Regions from separate parts of the Homo sapiens genome. Here region 1 is linked to region 2. The links are contacts of gene promoters, found by promoter capture Hi-C in blood cells and fetal thymus (Javierre and others, 2016). All regions are on one chromosome and are shown on one strand. Each heading gives the region's core, a stretch centred on a gene start or on the middle of the fragment in contact. The rest is flanking DNA. Distances are from core to core; before and after follow the strand shown.

Evidence for each region. Contacts are between HindIII fragments. The CHiCAGO score rates a contact against its expected background, and 5 or more counts as called.
Region 1: a fragment that was not itself captured here is called in contact with the fragment with the promoter of KRR1 in region 2 in 1 of 17 cell types (megakaryocytes); the score reaches 6.0 in megakaryocytes.

What each region holds. Positions count from the first base shown.
Region 1 is chr12:75,996,936-76,002,015 of GRCh38, forward strand. No RefSeq gene overlaps it. Among named protein-coding and RNA genes, the nearest start is that of PHLDA1-AS1, 31 kb to the right of the region's middle. The HindIII fragment of the contact is 3,161 bases long and covers 113-3,273 here.
Region 2 is chr12:75,510,005-75,514,970 of GRCh38, forward strand. It overlaps KRR1 (KRR1 small subunit processome component), which reads right to left and starts at 1,605. Exons shown (of 10, transcript NM_007043.7): 1 at 1,509-1,605. The coding sequence starts at 1,593. RefSeq lists enhancers at 818-1,362, 1,363-1,906, 1,413-1,572. The HindIII fragment of the contact is 5,214 bases long and covers 1-3,531 here.

The DNA.
Region 1 (5,080 bases), core at 443-2,942, 490 kb after region 2:
CTTGGAGATCCAAGGATGATGAAGCACATGGGAAATTCCTGGTGAAAGGCATGGTGGGATATCCAAGATTATTACTGAAAGGCACTATGGGATATCCAAGATTGTTAGTGCAAGCTTGAGTGATATCCAAGACTCTTGGTGCCAGATACTGGGAGATATCCAAACATCTGTGAAATCCAGTCCTCTGCTTTCAAGAAGTTGCCTTCTAGCTGGGATAATAAGACACAGAAAATTAACAATACCAAGTTGCACAAAATTAGTGCTAAATGAGTACTGCAGACATAGGAGTTCCAGATGTCCAGAGTAGCAAAAAGGGCCCCAAGAGACTTTACAGAAACTCCAAAAGTGGACATGTTTGGGCAGCAGTAAATAGAAAAAAGTTTGCTGGAACTCCGGGGACTCTTACTAAGTGTCAGATAACCATATCTGAGAAAAGTATTTCCTACCACATAGGGTTATCATAATGACTAAATACATATAAAGTTCCTGTGGCAAGGACATAATAAATGCCCTCAGGGTTCTAGTTAGTATTTTATAATTTCTCCTGTAATGTACATATTATTATCTCAATTTAAACTTTTTATTTTGAACTAATTTTAGACTTACATAAAAGTCACAAAAATAGTATAGAGCATGTTCTTATATCCCTCACCCTGCTTCCTTTAATGTTAACATCTTACATAACCATGGTATAATGATCAAAGAGTAAATTAACATTGGTGCCAACATTATTAACTCAAAAGCAGACTCTATTAAAATTTCACCAGTTTTTCTGCTAATGTCCTTTTTCTGGTCCAAGATCCATCCAGAATCCTATATTGCATTTGTTGTTGCCTTGATTTCCTCCTGTGCCTGTTGCTCATTCTTTCCTGTTTTTCCTGACCTTGACACTTTTGAAGAGTGCTGGTCAGTTATTTTGTAGAATGTCCTTCCGTTTAGGTTTGTGTGATGTTTTCTCATGATTAGAATGAGCTTATACAATTTGGGCAAGCATATTAGAGAAACGATGCTATGTTCTTCTCGGTGCATCATAGTAAGTTATTGTGTCCATTTTCAAGATGAAGATTCTGAGGCTCAGAAAAGGATCCACAGCTAATGAGTAGCAACACCTAGATATGGAAACAAAATTTGACTGTCACCGGCTGCCTCTGTACAGGAAATGGATGAAAAAACATTTGGGGGCTGGACACAGTGGCTCACGCCTGTAATTCCAGAATTTTGGGAGGCCAAGGCGGGCAGATCACTGGAGGTCAGGAGTTCGAGGCCAGCATGGCCAACATGGTGAAACCTCGTCTCTACTAAAAATAAAAAAATTAGCCAGACGTGGTGGTGCATGCCTGTAATCCCAGCTACTTGGGAGCCTGAGACAAAAGAATCGCTTGAACCCAGGAGGCAGAGGTTGCAGTAAGCCAAGATCGTGCATCACTGTACTCCAGCCTGGGTGACAGAGAAAGATTCCTTCTAAAAAAATAAAAAATAAAAAAAGTTTGGAATGAGACTTTGTAAAAGTCAGAGGGACTTTGTAAAAGTGGGAGGTGTTGGAATGCAAAACTGATGAGTTAGAGCTGTATTCAGAGATTGGGTAATTATTAAAAGAGCTTGAGCAAGGTATTAAGACATGAAAAGCAGTATTTGGAGGCAATTAACCTGAACACAGGACAGGCATATCTTTGAGATATTGCAGACCACCACAAAGAAGTAATTATCATAATAAAGCAAGTCACACAAAGTTTTTGATTTCCTAGTGCATGTAAAAGTTATGTTTACACTATACTGTAGTCTTTAAGTGCACAATAACATAATATTTGAAACAATAATGTGCATACCTGAATTTTAAAATGCTTTATTGCTAAAAAATGTTAACAATTATCTGAGCCTTCAGTGAGTCATAATCTTTTTGCTGGTAGAGGGTCTTGCCTCGATGTTGATGGCTGCTGACTAATCAGGATGGTGATTACAGAAAGTTGGGGCAGCTGTGGCAATTTCTTAAAATTAGACAACAATGAAATTTGCCATAAGGATTTCTCTGTAGCATGCAATATGTTTTGATAGCATTTTATCCACAGTAGAACTTCTTTCATAATTGCAGTCGATCCTCTCAAACCCTGCCACTGCTTTATCATCTAAATCCTTTGTTCTTTTTTTTTTTTTTTTTGAGACAGAATCTCCGTTGCCCAGGCTGGAGTGCAGTGGCAAGATCTCGGCTCACTGCAACCTCCGCCTGCCAGGTTCAAGTGATTATCCTGCCTCAGCCTCTCAAATAGCTGGGATTACAGGCATGTGCCACCATACCTGGCTAATTTTTGTATTTTTAGTAGAGATGGGGTTTCACCATGTTGGCCTGGCTGTTCTCCAACTCTTGACCTGTTAACCTCAAGTGATCTGCCTGCACTGGCCTCCCAAAATGCTGGAATTACAGGCATGAGCCACCATGCCCAGCCTAAATCCTGTGTCCTAATTTCAACAATGTTCACAGCATCTTCACCAAGAGTAGATTCCATTTTAAGAAGTCACTTTCATTGCTCATCCATAAGAAGCAACTCCTCATCCATTCAAGTTTCAGCATGAGATTGTAGCAATTCAGTCACATCTTCAGGCTAATTCTAATTCTAGTTCTCTAACTATTTTCACCACATTTCAGTTACTCCCTCCACTGAAGTGTTGAGGCCCTCAAAGTCATCCATGAGGGTTGGAATCAACTTCTTCGAAACTCCTGACAATGTTCATATTCTGAGCTCCTCCCACGAGTCACAAATGTTCTTAATAGCATCTAGAATGGTGAATCCTTTCCAGAAGGTTTTTATTTTGCTTTGCCCAGATCCATCAGAGGAATCAGTACCTATGGCAACTATAGCCTTATGAAATGTATTTTTTAAATAGTAAAACTTGAAATTTGAAATTCCTCCTTGATCCACGGGCTGAGGAATGCATGTAGTGTTAGCAGGCACAAAAACATTAATCTCTTGGTACAACTCCATCAGAGCTCCTGGGTGATCAGATGCATTTTGTCAAAGAACAGTAATATTTTGAAAGGAATATATATATATTTTAGCAGTAGGCCTCAACAGTGGGCTTAAAATGCTCAGTAAACCATGCTGTCAACAGATATGCTGTCATCTAGGCTTTGTTGTTCCATGTAGAGAGCACAGGCAGAGTAGATTTAGAATAATTCTTAAGGACCCTAGGACTTTTGGAATGGTCAATGAGCATTAGCTTCAACTTAAACTCACCAGCTATACTAGCCCCTAACAAGACAGTCAGCCTGTCCTTTGAAGCTTTGAAGCCAGGCATTGACTTCTCCTTTCAAGCTATGGAAGTCCTAGATGGCATCTTTTTCCAATATAAGGCTGTTTTGTCTACATTAAAAACCTGTTGTTTAGTGTAGCTGTCTTCACAAATTATCTTAGCTAGAACTTCAGGATAACTTGCTGTAGCTTCTAAATCAGTACTTGCTGTCTCATCTTGTACTTTGATGTTATAAAGATGGCCTCTTTCCTTAAACCTCATGAACCAATCTCTGCTGGCTTCACACTTTTCTTCTGCATCTTCCTCACCTCTCTCAGCCTTCATGGAAAGGAAGAGAGTTAGGGCTTTGCTCTGGATTAGGCTTTGGTTTAAGGGACTATTGTGGCTGGTTTGTTCTTTCTCCATACCAACTAGAAGGCTGTTTCCCTTTCTTATCATTTGTGCATTCTCTGGAATAGCACTTTTAATTTTCTTCAAGAACATTTCCTTTGCATTCACAACTTGGCTAACTGGTAGAAGAGGCCTAGCTTTTGACCTATGTCCGCTTTTGACATATCTTTCTTACTAAGTGTAATCATTTCCAGCTTTTGATTTAAAATGAGACATGAGACTTTTCCTTTCACTTGAACACTTAGAGGACATTGTATGTTATTAAGTGGCCTAATTTCAATATTTTAGTGTCTCGGGGAATAGTAAGGCCTGAGGAGAGAGAGATGGGGCAACAGCGGGTTGGTGGAGCAGTCAGAACACACACAACATTTAACAATAAAGTTTCGGGTGTGGTTCTTGGTGCCTCAAAACAATTACAGTGGTAACATCAAAGATCACTGATCACAGATCACCATAACAGATATAATACTAATTTTTAACATTTGAAATATTGTGAAAATTACTGAAATAGAAGCACGAAGTGAGCACCTGCTTATTGGAAAAATGGTACAGACTTGCTTGACACAGGATCTCCACAAACCTTCAGTTTGCAAAAAATGTGATATCTGCAAAGTGTGGTAAAGTACAATAAAACGAGGTATGCCTGTACTGTATAAAAAATGGATTGGAAAAGGGAGGGAGTAGTGGCAAGGAAGTCCTAAGACTCTACTGGGACACTCCAAACACAAGGCAGGGAGGGCCCACCAGCTTTCATCCAGGTGCTACCAAGGAGCAACTGAATAAAAAACCATTATTCGGCTTTTTAAAAATGTAGATCCCTGAGTCACACACAAGACCTCTGTTGAATCAGAATCTCTGGGTGTGGGGACCAAGTATTTACATTTTCATCATTCTCTCCAGGTAATTCTTAACTCATTAACTAATTTAAATAATTACATATAGAAGAAAATAGAAGATCAACTAAGTCAGAGGTCAGCAAACTTTTTCTGTAAAGGGCCAGACAGTAAATATATTAGGTTTTATAGGTCTAAAGAATTTTAGGCTTTGCAGTCTCTGTCACCAGGACCAGTTATATAATTTGTAAGGCCCAGTGTAAAATAAAAATGCAGAGTCCCCTTTTTAAAAATTATTAATATCTGCAAGATAGTTGCAGCTGAGCGTTAAACCAAGCAGGAGATCATTCTAAAGGCTGGGGCTTTCTATGACCATACAGGTCTCACGCCTGTGAAGCCAGCCCTGTCTATTACAACTGTTCGCCCCTGCCATTGTAGTGTAGAAGAATCCATAGACAAGTAAATGAATGGGCAGGGGACATCATGATTTGGCTCAGGGCTGTTGTCTGCCAACCCCTGAAGTAGACCATCTTTTAGCATGTCAGCATGCTCATAATATTCACAAAGTTTATGAAATGCTAACATAAAAAATAGAAAATAAGCCAGGCATG
Region 2 (4,966 bases), core at 355-2,854:
TCAGGAGTTTCACAATTAAGGAAGCCTCAAAACATGTGAAAAGATATGCAACCTCATAGGTGATCAGAAAATGCAAACTAAAACTGCAACCAAATACCATTTCATAACTACCAAAATGACAGAAATTCAAAATTCAGATAACATGTATTCATACTAATGTAAGGCAATGACAACTTTCGTCCACTCCTAGTGGGAACAAAACTGACACTAGCACTTTGGAAAAAAGTTAGCATTACTTACACACACCCTACACTTCAGTGATTCCAATCCTATGTTCACAACCTAGAGAAACCCTTGAACATGTTAACCAGAAGACATGTACAAAGATGTTTTAGCAGTATTGTTTATAATTGCAAGCAATTGGGAACAATCCAAATGTCCACCGATAGTAAAATGAAAAAATAAATTGGGGTATATTCATACAAGGAAACACCACATAACAGTGAAAAGACTAAAACTACACCCGCAAGTATCACCCTGTTTGAAAAACAAAAAGCTAAATCTAAGAAGACACAGAAAAATGCATACGGTCCACTTTCATGTATATAAAATTAAAAAACAGGCTAAATTAAGCCACTTCATGACTACAAGAAGAGGAACAGAATGCAACACAATTCAGGGTGGTTACGTCTGATACAGGAAAAGAGAATATGATCTGAGAGGTGCACGTAAGGGTTTGAGGGGTATGGTAATGCTCTATTTTACTTAGTCTGAATGCTAGTTTCCCGCATGGTTTTATTAAACTCTATATAAGTTGTATCCCCTGCTATGTACGTTACATAATCATTTAATGAGCAACAACAAAGAAACTTTGAATACTTTCCCAATGCATCTAAATTGAGAGTTCAATGTTTTTAACACTTCCTATAAGCCTGGTTGAACAGATCCCCAGGCTATTTATGACTTCTCTATCATTCACACTGAAGAAAACGGGTAAAACCAGACTACAACGCAGGAGTTAACAATTAAAAGGTAACACAACCTAAACAGTAAGGGCTGTGTCGTCTAATATTTTAGCATCTGACAAACAGGAATTGATAATCTTTCAAAATGTCTTTACTGACAAACTAGAGCTAAGGACATGTCGGATAGCTCCTTTCCCCATACCTCACCCCATTATCAGGGTCCACTCTTGTATATCATGACTACCTATTCCCACCTCACCCTATTCCTCATTCCGTCAGTGACTTTCAGCCACCCGCAGGCTTACAAGGTTCTGCGTCGCCCTAGGCATTTTCTTAATACTCATCCTTTTACAAAAGACGTAATCCGCAACAGCTTCGCTTTGGGGACCCTTTAGCAAAAGCAATGAATTAGGAACACCTGGGTGGCACCATATCGGCCAGCCGTTCCTGTGGGCCCAGCCAAAATCTTATCAGCGATTATTCAGGTACTCAACTACACAGTACAGGCTCCAGGTGGTTTTATAAGTCCACGAGGAACGAAAGAAAAAAACATCGCAACTCAACGTACACAAACCCCAGGCTTCGGTTCCCACATAACATCACCTTGGTTCTCCGGCTTCGGCTTCTGGTTACGAAATTCACTTTTTCCAGCGCCTTTTTCTGGCCGCTCCAGCGAGGGAGACGCCATTTGCAAGCTGCTTCCGGTGGCTCCGGAAATGAAACTGTTCTTAAACCCTACCGGCTAAAACGCCTACACTCAAAATGAGTTCCGCGGAACTCAGACGAGGAGATCTGCGCAGTCTCCGTGCGTACGTGCGTTAAGCCCGCGCTTTTACACAAACCACAGCTTCTCCTACGTGGCCAATGAAGAGCCGGAGACTTTCTCCCAGTATGCCCTGAAACCATGGAGTTTGCGTACTGGGACTTGTAGTTTAGCAGGCGGTATAGGCAAATTGGATACTGTTTTATCCGTAGTTTCCTCGTGGCCTCACGGCCTAACCTGGACCATCGGACAGCGGAGTGCTACCAACCTGTCATTGATGTCATTCATTCTTTCGATAAATATTTATATGTTGGCCAAATATGCGCTAGATGTTGGGAGGAAGTACAAATATGAGAATACAATGTATATTGGGCCTCCACTGCAACAAGTGACAGGAATAGCTACTATTTATTGTGAGACTACTTTGTTTCAGTACTTTATTTACATTATTTCTAATTTTAAAAACAGTGACAAAATTAAACTTTTCAAAGTTGTTTCTGATGGTAATCTTCCCGAGTGTTGGTATTTCTCTAAGTCAGAGGGATGGTAATTCAACATCCTGACGTTTCTGAAGTATTTCAACTAGCCTAAGATTTCTCAAAATCTCTAAACTCCTTTTCTACCCCCAACATTACATAGGGCTAAGATGTGTAGAGAGGTTCATCACTAACTACAAATAACTACACTTTTGGAAGTATAAGAGTTCTTCGACATGCCAAATATAAGATTTTTTTAAATTTTGATTTTATTGCTTGCATTTCTAAAATTTTCTGCAGCAAATAGGGAAAGTCTTTGATAGGTTAAATTCCTTGCATTAGTGAAATACACGTTTGTCTGATAAATCCACTCTCGTGTATCTTATACAATAATTTAGGTTTTCATATATGAGATCCAGGTATGAAACAGATTGTTACATATGGACAGAAGAACCCACGACAGAGGGGTTTTTTGTTTTTATCCTGTGAGTTTTATAAATGACAGGGATTTTATCTCTGTTCTTTTAATTTCCTCAAAAAATGATAAATTCCTAAAATAGAACAGATAGCAGCAGGTGAAAGTTATAAAGTGAGGAGTACACCTCATGAAGCAGGTTTTTATCATTCTTATTTTAAGTAACTCAATCACTAATAAGTGGAAGGCCCGTCTTCAAGTTCAGGCAGTTTGACCTAGCAGCTTCAGGGGGCTACTATTCATTAGGAGCTTCAAATGTGTTAGAGGGCTGATAGGGATTAAGGGGAGGGAATAGTCTAGAAATAATATTTGTGTTAAAGCCCTTTATTTTATAGCAAAATTTTCTACATAGGCTTTTCTTCCCATTTACGTGTATATTTTTAATCTTAGTATTGCTATTATTTGAGGAATATTGAGAATATGATGGAGATGGGAAAACGAAAACCCACCCATCCTTTTCTTGGCACTATTGAGTCTGTTTGTAAAACCCAACCTTTTAATTACCATACTATGCAGAGCCCACAGTTCACCTGTCCCTTTTTGAAATTTTTACATCTTTTTCCAAATCATTACTGAAAGGGGTGTAAAAACATGGATAATAATTGAGTTCTAAGATTCTCTAACGTCCTCAAGACCTCCTATTATAGATGACACCACACTAAAACTGTCTGCTTTCCAAAGGAAAAGATTCATCAGGCTCCTACAATAAGTTATTTCAGTATTAAGTGATTCTTTCCCTTCCCTAACTCAAAAGCCCTCATGTTGTCCACCAACTGAATATACAATATAAAAACAATATATGATTGGAAGTTAAGTGAATTTTTTTAAGTCTGTTACTTGCCTTCCAGAACCCATAATCTAACACAAGTTATATCACAGGAATAGGGAGTTATCTTACATATAGGATATAAAAGCTTTTACTAAAAAATGAATCCTGCAACAAAAATCACAAATTAATTTAAAAATATTAATTATAATGACTATTAATCATATACTGAAGGGTATATATAATTATACAGTACTTTTTCCTCTGTGATAATATGAGATAAAATATAGCAAGATACTAATTTGATGCTAGTAGTTATAAGAAGTAATGTATAAAAATTAAATGAATAGAAAATTGCATGAGACTGAGAGGCTGAAGCTTTTCCTTAGTACACATACATTTTTTTTTCAGTTTTAAAACAGACTCTGATGCTTAAATATTGTTACTCATTAACTGAATTTTCATATTTTGGCTTGACAAGCAGGAATAGCACATATATATATACTTACTAAAAATTAAAATTGACAGTCAAATTGAATGAGAACAACGTTTCAACAATTTGCTTAGACTATGTTTTAAGCAATTTTGAAGAAAAATTTTAAAATAAACGTGGTATGGAATAAACAAATTCCGAAATTAATTCGACTAGTTCTTCTAAGAATTAAACATTGTAACCAATATTACATATGAGTAGTTTAAACTTTTAAAACCTCTTAACAATAGTTTCCACATGTGGGAACTATTTGCTCTAGATTCCTTACTTTGGAAAAGAGCAGATCTAATTTCAACATCTTCCAAAAATTCATTAGAATTGAAAGAACAATTTGATTTTAAATAAATATTGAATAATGACTAAAAATTATAAATATTTATTGAATACATATTGAAAATAAATATTGAAAAATCTCCTAAAATCACCTTAGAAGACTATAAACTCAAAAGTGATTATCAAAATGACAGTGTCCAAATTTTCATCTCAATTTCAATGATTCACTGATTATAAAGTATTCAAAATAATAATTTAAAATTTAAAATGATGAGAAATAGGGTAAAAAAATAAAGGATATAAAAGAGGGCAAAATATTCGCAAAACATTTAATGGGTTGATTACAATAATATTCAAGGCGATAAAAAGATGTAAGCAATTCAATCAAAAAATGAGGAAAGCCCGAGGGCAGTGGCTTACGCCTGTAATCCCAGCACTTTGGGAGGCCGAGGCGGGCGGATCACGAGTTCAGGAGATTGAGGCCATTCTGGCTAACACGGTGAAACCCCGTCTCTATTAAAAATTCAAAAAATTAGCGGGGCATGGTGGCACGCACCTGTAGTCCCAGCTACTAGGGAGGCTGAGGCAGGAGAATCGCTTGAATCCAAGAAGCAGATGTTGCAGTGAGCCGAGATCATGCCACTGCACTCCAGCCTGGGTGACAGAGCAAGACTCCATCTCAAAAAAAGAAAAGAAAAACGGAAAATATATTAGTAGATATTTGTGATGGTTAATTTTAAGTGTTAACTTGACTGGGTAATATTGTCCCGATATTTGGGCCTACATTATTATGGATGTTTCTGTGAGAGTACTTT